Regions from separate parts of the Homo sapiens genome. Here region 1 is linked to region 2. The links are contacts of gene promoters, found by promoter capture Hi-C in blood cells and fetal thymus (Javierre and others, 2016). All regions are on one chromosome and are shown on one strand. Each heading gives the region's core, a stretch centred on a gene start or on the middle of the fragment in contact. The rest is flanking DNA. Distances are from core to core; before and after follow the strand shown. Region 1 holds the start of LINC03102 (long intergenic non-protein coding RNA 3102). Region 2 holds the start of ZRANB2-AS1 (ZRANB2 antisense RNA 1).

Region 1 (4,527 bases), core at 305-2,804, 690 kb after region 2:
GTGAATTAAGTATTGATTTACATGGTTTGTTATTTTCATCTGTCAGTGTACTGCTGTGTCGTCAGATTTCAGAGACAATTACCTCATTAGTTAGATAGCCCTATCATCTATCAAACAAAATACTCCTAGATCTTGTTCAACCATTGTGGAATGTAGGAAATCATATTCCAGATTATTGTGAGAATATAAAACACAAATCTTCAGAGAAGATGAAAGAAAAAAGATGTAGACTAAACTTGCACTAATATTTACATTAGAAACATTATTAGTATGCAATGCAATGAGAATTGAGTAAGGTTAGTAACTACAGATCCTAATTGGAAGTCTGTTGATATATTTAAAAAATATAACGAGTGAGATTTTATTTTGTACAGTACTGCTGTTCTGTATTTCATGTTACCATACTACTGCTTTTGTTAAATGAAGACACCAGGACAGGGATTAGGTGCTTTGTGTAGGGCTAATAGAGATACATAAATTTCTGGCAAAATTCACAACGTTCTTTCTTAGAGACAGATTTAACTGTCTAGTCAGTGTTTGGTGTTGGTGAGCACATAACTATCTAACAAAACTCTCATTAGAAAAAGTTGAAAAACATTCATTTTTCAGAAGCTTTTTGCTATTCAAGGCAAATTGAGCATTATTGAGTTAACTACACCAGGAGAGAAATTAATTTGCTAATTTGTAGAACTACAGAGTATTACCTAGCAAATTCAGTAGTTTAGTTCTCAGGGTTTTTTTTTTTTTCCTTTTGGCATGGAGTCTAGCTCTGTTGCCCAGGCAGGAGTGCAATGGCACAATCTCGGCTCACTGCAACCTCTGCCTCCCAGGTTCAAGCGATTCTCCTGCCTCAGCCTCCCAGGTAGCTTGGATTATAGGGGTCCACCACCACGTCCGGCTAATTTTTGTATTTTTAGTAGAGACGGGGTTTCGCCATGTTGGCCAGGCTGGTCTCGAACTCCTGGCCTCAGGTGATCCACCCGCCTCAGCCTCCCAAAGTGCTGGGATTACAGGCGTGAGCCACTGCGCCTGGCCAGTAGTTTAGTTCTATACTTGAATTGATGGATTGCATTCTATCTTGTAAAATTTGAATAAAAAGTAAATACAGTGTTTACCAGTGAAGTTATTTACTCATTACATATTGATATAATTGATAATCACTACATATTTTATCATATTGAATTCAAGACACTGTGATAACAGATTTTTTTGAAGCAAAATCCTGTTTTAAGTCTTTGGATATAGTACTTTTGCTGACCACTCTTGCATTTGTCTCTCCAACATTATTCCCCACCTCATTCCCATTATGAAACAGTTCACTGTTTGGAGAGCTGGGCCCCACCTCCGGCTCCGAGATCAATCCTGATTGGGTGAAACTAATCTGAGTAACCCCTCCTTCACAGGGGTTTGTCAGATAACCCAGGCTTGAGCCAATCACCGTTCTCTGGGACACAGATTGGACTGAGTTATCTTGTAACTGTCATACTCCAGATTTATGTGGGAGCAGGAACTCCTTTGGACCTTAAGGAGGAAGCACGTGGCTGCTTTTACCTGCTGGCAGTTATCTTGTGTTCTTGAAGGAAGCAGGCCTGAGGAGGACTCCTCATACAGAGAGAAACACCGAGAGATTCACTGAAAAACTGACATGGGATCCTGAGGGGCCACTCTTGAAGACTTATCTCTGCACCTTTCTGGTATGTAAGTCAATACATTCCTTTAATTTAACCCTGTTTCAATTGAATTTATTGTTACTTCTACATGAAAAACAAAAAGTCCTAAATGATATATCTACTCTTTGGCTTCATGTAAGAATTCAAGAGTGTAGCAGCTAATTTCAGTGTAGTTATATTGGGATTATTTAAGAAGTTTATTTAGCATCTCATTACTGAGTCTGCAGTTGTCTTAGTACCTTGTAGATACTTGGGGTTTTGTGTTCTAATAGACTGATTAATTCAACAACTGCTTATTATTAATATAAGCATTCACTCCCTGTAGGGCACTGTGCATACAGCAATGATCAGCATGATTCCAGTGCTCAGAGAGCTCCAAGGATTAGTTGAGACCAGACAAGAATATCAAGGAGGCATGCAGAAGTTACAATGGGAAATCAAAAAGAAGACAAAGGAGGGACACCTAATTCAGAACGATGGGTTTGTTGGATAGGAGAGAAAAGGAGACGAATGGGCAGGTATCATCAAAGATTCCTAAGAAGAAGTTCCTAACTTCTGTTTTTGTGCCATTGACTCTTTGGCAGTGTGGAGAAACCCAGGGACCCATTTTCAGAACAGTGTTTTTAAATGCATAAAATATTTTGGATTAAAAGGAAACTCTGAGTATTGAAATACCTAACAAAATATTTTAAAAGCAAATTTGTAATACAGTAATGTATATGCTTCTTTATTAACTAATTAAAGAACAAGATATAGCAATGAGCATACCTATTAAGATAATTTTAGAGGTACTAATGACTATAAATGAAATTTTGAGTTGTCTGCAGCAACTGTTATGTGAAATGAAAATACCTGTGGTTTTTTTGGTTGTGAAGTCACAGGTACTACTAATGCTAATACTATTGTGGTTTGTGGCATACGTTCATAATAGAATGACATGCTAAATTTTATTTGGAAAGTTAGTTCAACACAATTTCCTGGCTCTGAATTCTATGCCAAGTTAAAAAAAAATTTGTGCTAAGAAGGGATAAAATTTGATGTAATTCTTTTATTTATTTATTTATTTTTTTAGACAGAGTCTCGCTCTATCGCCCAGGCTGGTGTGCAGTGGTGCAATCTCACTGCAACCTTTGCCTCCTGGGTTCAAGCCATTCTCCTGCCTCAGCCTCCCGAGCAGCTGGGACTACAAGCAGACGTCACCATGCCTGGCTGATTCTTTTTGTATTTTTCAGTAGAAATGGGGTTTCACCATGTTGGTCAGGCTGATCTTGAACTCCTGACCTCAAGTGACTTGCCCACCTCGGCCTTCCAAAGTGCTGGGATTACAGGCATGAGCTACCACGCCCAGCCCCAGAAAGCTTTTCTGATCATCCAATTTCTATTTTCCCCAAATAGAATTAATGACTTCCTTTTCTATATTGTATTGGGAGCTTATATAATTTCAATCCTTGTATTTTTCATAATGTATTACAATCATATTTCTATCTTTTTTATAATATATTGTAATCTTACATTTCTGTCATTTTTACAAGCCCTTAAAAATAATGGATGGGGCCAAGTGCAGTGGCTCACACCTGTCATCTCAGCACTTTGGGAGGCTGAGGTGGAAGGATCACCTGGGCCCAGGAGTTCAAGACCAGCCTGACCAACATAGTGAGACACGGCCTCTATAAAAAATAATAATAATAATGAATGGGCTGGGGGCAGTAGCTCACACCTGTAATCCCAACACTTCAGGAAGCCGAGGTGGGTAGATGGCTTGAGTCCAGGAGTTTGAGACTAGCCTGGGTGACATGGCCAAACCCAGTCTCTACAAAAAAATACAAAAATTAGCTGGGCCCTGTAGTCCCAGCACTTGGGAGGCTGAGGCGGGAGGATCCACTTGAGCATGGGAGGTGGAAGTTGCAGTGAGCTGAGATCATGCCACTGCACTCCAGCCTAGCTGACAAAATGAGACTCAAAAAACAACAAAAAATAAGTCTTGGTGTGGTGGCTCATGCCTGTAATCCCAGCACTTTGGGAGGCCGAGGTGGGCGGATCACCTGAGGTCAGAAGTTCGAGACTCAGCCTGGCCAACATGGTGAAACCCCATCTCTATTAAAAATACAAAAATTAGCTTGGCATGGTGGTGGAGACCTGTAATGCCAACTACTTGGGAGGCTGAGGCAGGAGAATTGCTTGAACCCAGGAGGCGGAGGTTGCAGTGAGCTGAGACCACACCATTGCATTCCAGCATGGGCAACGGGAACAAAACTCTGTCTCAAAAATAAAATAAAATAAAAAATAAAAAAGGATGATATTTATTTATTTATTTATTTATTTTTAAAGACAGGATACCTGTCACTTAGGCTGGTGTGCAGTAGTGCAATCCTAGTTCACTGCAGCCTTGGACTCCCAGGCTCAAGTGGATCTCCCACCCCAGCCTCTTGAGTAGCTGGGACTGCAGGTGTTTAGCACCACAGGTGGCTAATATTTTATATTTTTTGATAGAGATGGGGTTTCACTATGTTGCCCAGGCTGGTTTCAAACCCCTGACCTCAAGTGATCCTCCTGCTTTGGCCTTTCAAAGTGTTGGGATTACAGGTATGAGCTACCACACCTGGCCTGAATATTATTTTTGATATGTATGGTGTTTGATTTTACTGGAGGGATACTTATGAGTTTCCACATTCCATGGGTGACATCCATGGGTGACAGCCACTAATAAAGAAATTTCAAATTCAGACTCTAGTGATAGAATACTTCACAAGTATAACGGGATATTATTTGGTGTAGGTTTTTAGTAATAGGATGCTGGCCACTTACCCTATACACACGCTTTGAATATTGGTGTTTTCAAGATTTTGTTCTATATGGA
Region 2 (4,434 bases), core at 1,352-3,851:
ATGAGGAAAAATGAACTTTGCAATTATTTTTAAAAATCTTTTCATCTCTTAGACAGTGTAAAAAGGCAAAAAGCAAAAAACACAAGACTTTCCCAAGATTAGGGGAAGATGATCTCACCGTTAATATTCATCTGCTGAGAGCAGTTATGGGACCCATGTCAGGAATACATGCTTCAAATAAGATGGGACTTGAGAATTGCTGAGAGACTTCAGGAACATTCTTTAACTTCATGGGGCCTCAGTTACCCCACCTTTAAGGGAAATAATAATAGCAATAGTACCTTGGAGGATTTCTGTGATAAAATGAGAAAATGCTTGTGAGAAGTACATAAAATATTGGCTTACTGAAAGATGTTACGAGGCAAGCAAGTATGCCTATTTTCATTCAATGTTTATTATTTCAAAGGCAAAGTTTCCATATAGATTAAGGCCTTCATAACATCTGAATACCTTTTCTAGTTCTTATTGTATGAAGATAAGAAGGATGGTTGGAGGCTTTGTAAGGAATACCTTTCTCTTCTGCTCCCCTCTCACTCCCATAGGCTGGGAGCAGTTGATTTCACTACCTCAGATATGCAAATTGATGCCACCTTCCTGTAGCCACTTTTGCCATAGCTGACCTTTTTGTTGGGTGGTGGGGAGGGGAGCGGGCAGGATTAGGCGAGGGGTAGTAGTTGGGATTTCTTGGTCTTGGAATTCAACCATCCGATGTATTTGTTTCCCTGTGTCTATTCCCTTAAGTCTACAGGCACTGTCTAGTAATTTTATAGTTTTCAGCGGCACCCCAGGGGACAGGACACCTTGGCCTTTTTATAATCACTCTAGAGTCACAAAGCAGAAAGGAAAAAAGTTAACGATCAGCTATGCAAAGGCTTGTGTGGATTGCTTAAGGACAGGCGATTTTCACTTTACCAGAGTTACTAAAGGACTTCAGGAGAAGGATCCCGTCCCTGTAGGAGCGTTTGTGGTTGAAGAAGCAGGAGGACGAGCGCTCAGGTGCGCCTCGGCAGTTTGCCTGGGGTCCGCAAGTCCAGTGCTACTTATTAGCTGCTTGCCGTCCACCGACACTTTAGCGGAGAACTGGAGGAGACCCCAGTGGGCTCCCGGTCCGGCCAGGAGCAGGGCGTTTCAGAGGAGACCGTCTGGGGCTTCCCAACCCAGGCGATCAGGATAGGCAACAGCCAAGAGAGGCGCTCAGTTGCTTTGCACCCTCCTCCCACCTCGGTTCTGTCCACACCCACGGGCGCCCCGCCCCCTCGGCCTTATAAAGGGGACTCGGCACCTCCGCGCGCCTCGCCACCAGAGGTTTCCCAGAGAGGAAGGCGTGGCTCCCTCCCGGGCCAGTGAGCCCTGGCGCCGCCGCGGCCGCGGTCCCAGCAGCGGAGTAGGGCGGCGGCTGCGCCCCGCACCATGGGGGGCAGCCCAGCCCCAGCCGCGGTAAACGCCGACCTCCGCCGCCGCCCGCGCCGCGTCTGCCCCCTCCCGCTGCGGCTCTCTGGACGCCATCCCCTCCTCACCTCGAAGCCAACATGAAGGAGACCCGGGGCTACGGAGGGGATGCCCCCTTCTGCACCCGCCTCAACCACTCCTACACAGGCATGTGGGCGCCCGAGCGTTCCGCCGAGGCGCGGGGCAACCTCACGCGCCCTCCAGGGTCTGGCGAGGATTGCGGATCGGTGTCCGTGGCCTTCCCGATCACCATGCTGCTCACTGGTTTCGTGGGCAACGCACTGGCCATGCTGCTCGTGTCGCGCAGCTACCGGCGCCGGGAGAGCAAGCGCAAGAAGTCCTTCCTGCTGTGCATCGGCTGGCTGGCGCTCACCGACCTGGTCGGGCAGCTTCTCACCACCCCGGTCGTCATCGTCGTGTACCTGTCCAAGCAGCGTTGGGAGCACATCGACCCGTCGGGGCGGCTCTGCACCTTTTTCGGGCTGACCATGACTGTTTTCGGGCTCTCCTCGTTGTTCATCGCCAGCGCCATGGCCGTCGAGCGGGCGCTGGCCATCAGGGCGCCGCACTGGTATGCGAGCCACATGAAGACGCGTGCCACCCGCGCTGTGCTGCTCGGCGTGTGGCTGGCCGTGCTCGCCTTCGCCCTGCTGCCGGTGCTGGGCGTGGGCCAGTACACCGTCCAGTGGCCCGGGACGTGGTGCTTCATCAGCACCGGGCGAGGGGGCAACGGGACTAGCTCTTCGCATAACTGGGGCAACCTTTTCTTCGCCTCTGCCTTTGCCTTCCTGGGGCTCTTGGCGCTGACAGTCACCTTTTCCTGCAACCTGGCCACCATTAAGGCCCTGGTGTCCCGCTGCCGGGCCAAGGCCACGGCATCTCAGTCCAGTGCCCAGTGGGGCCGCATCACGACCGAGACGGCCATTCAGCTTATGGGGATCATGTGCGTGCTGTCGGTCTGCTGGTCTCCGCTCCTGGTAGGTAGTTCCAGGGTTGGGGGAAGTCAGGATGCGTGTGCGAGTAAGCGGGAACCTAAGACTTTGCTAAGTGGCAGCACCCGCAGGGGTGTGTTTGCAACCGCAGAGCGCTGAAGTGTCCTTTCCTCCTGCCCGCGCGGTCTTGGTTACAGCTTCAGAGCTGAGCTCCTCACTTACTAGCTGAGCGCCTTCCAAGAGCCAGGATTCGCATTAGGCACTGTTTATGAGCACATAGAGATCACAGGGCTGCTCACATTCTAGTCGGGTAGGAGACAGGATGTGTCATTGAAATGACATATATGCAGAGCTAGAAGTTTGTCCTGAGTGCATTAAAAGCAGAATTGCTATGATAACTGTAGCCTGATATTGTGGGGTTTTTTTTTTTTTTTTTTTTTGAGACGGAGTCTCGCTCTGTCACCCAGGCTGGAGTACAGTGGCGCAGCCTCGGCTCACTGCAAGCTCCGCCTCCCGGGTTCACGCCATTCTCCTGCCTCAGCCTCTCCGAGTAGCTGGGACTACAGGCGCCCGCCACCACGCCCGGCTAATTTTTTTTTTTTATTTTTAGTAGAGACGGGGTTTCACCGTGGTCTCGATCTCCTGACCTCGTGATCCACCCGCCTCGGCCTCCCAAAGTGCTGGGATTACAAGCGTGAGCCACCGCGCCCGGCCGGGTTTTTTTTTTTTAATTTCAAATTCCTCTTTCACGTTAATAAGATTTTCAGTCTGCAACCCCATACAGTCACAGCCCTCCTGCAGCTTCTGAAAGACTGCGCGACCTATGGGTGCCTTCAAGGTTCATTCTTGATGAGGCAGGAGAATGAAAGATACGAGTTGCCTCCTCAGCCTTTCGCCATGGTGCTTGACCCTCTAGGAAGTGCCCGAACGACAGTCAGTGGGATCCGGAAGCTCAGCAGCTTCTTCAGGCCAGCATTTACTTACCCTTGTAGCACTCAAGCAGGGTTCGCTAATCCTGAGATAGGAGGTAGAGGTTTCTCCATGTCCTAGCTCCTCACACCAGAGCAATGCAGAGGAGCAAGGGATGTTTGCAGAGGCTCTTTGCCTAACACCTGCCCTTACGTGATATTTTTGAGGTTTTTTTGTCTGTGTTACTTTTAGCTAGAAATGTCCGTGTGTAAGTGCTGTTTACTAATTCCTGAAGAATGGATGCTTACTTAGGCCCTGGGGTGTCTGGGTTAATAGATGTTGCAGAAAGAGCGATATGGTCACTGTTACAAAGGTATAACCAACTATATGTATTATACAGTTGTGGAAAACCTTTGAAACACGTGAACGCAGTTTTTTTTCTTTCCTAATTATGGTAAAATATATTACATACAATTCAGTATTTTAACCATTATTATGTGTACAGTTCAGTGGCATTAGGCATTAAGTACGTTGAGTTTTTTGTGCGCCATGTATACTTTTAAATCCCTTGCATTTGAAAATAGAAATGTAATTTCTTTAACCTGGTTTGGTAGATTGGAGCACAAACCTTGGCTCCAAATCAGTGACATGAGGGGACAAGGAGTGTTATGCTGAGACCTAACTGCCCACAAGTCGCTGTATGGTCACAGTTCTTTATTCCAGGAGTTGGAACTCAGGCTGATGTCATCACTATGGCTTATCAAAACCAGCACCAGTTTTAGATATACAGTATTTACTTTTATGGCTGAGGAATGGAGTGTACAGGTGGCCAACTAGGAAGGAAGAAAGAGTTCTAAATAGTAAACACTTTACTAAAGTGTGGTAATTAATATAACTTTAAAGGCAAACAGGGTATCAGTTTTTCACAAGTGTCATTTGAGTCCCACATCTTTGAGTTTGCTGTATCACATGATTTATATCCTAGGGAAAAAAAATGCAGTTAAATCAATTGAACAAAATACCCATACAGTTAATCAGACTTATAATTTATTGTTTGTGCATTTTGTTTTTAAGTCAAAGCGAAGCCATGTAGTGTGTTTTTGATTTAGACACTTTAATTCTAGTACCAAAAGTATGGTGGCCT

Evidence for each region. The method cuts DNA at HindIII sites, captures the fragments that hold promoters and counts their contacts. A CHiCAGO score of 5 or more calls a contact.
Region 1: the fragment with the promoter of LINC03102 here is called in contact with the fragment with the promoter of ZRANB2-AS1 in region 2 in 1 of 17 cell types (activated CD4 T cells); the score reaches 7.6 in activated CD4 T cells.

What each region holds. Positions count from the first base shown.
Region 1 is chr1:70,357,464-70,361,990 of GRCh38, reverse strand. It overlaps LINC03102 (long intergenic non-protein coding RNA 3102), which reads left to right and starts at 1,554. Exons shown (of 2, transcript NR_183713.1): 1 at 1,554-1,694; 2 at 1,996-2,432. The region is part of intron 1 of ANKRD13C-DT (ANKRD13C divergent transcript); the gene reads right to left. RefSeq lists a silencer at 1,429-1,622 and an enhancer at 2,859-2,918. The HindIII fragment of the contact is 2,416 bases long and covers 615-3,030 here.
Region 2 is chr1:71,044,673-71,049,106 of GRCh38, reverse strand. It overlaps ZRANB2-AS1 (ZRANB2 antisense RNA 1), which reads right to left and starts at 2,601. Exons shown (of 3, transcript NR_038420.1): 1 at 1,518-2,601; 2 at 119-293. It overlaps PTGER3 (prostaglandin E receptor 3), which reads left to right and starts at 1,291. Exons shown (of 4, transcript NM_198719.2): 1 at 1,291-2,426. The coding sequence starts at 1,530. RefSeq lists an enhancer at 1,294-1,877. The HindIII fragment of the contact is 6,286 bases long and covers 1-4,434 here.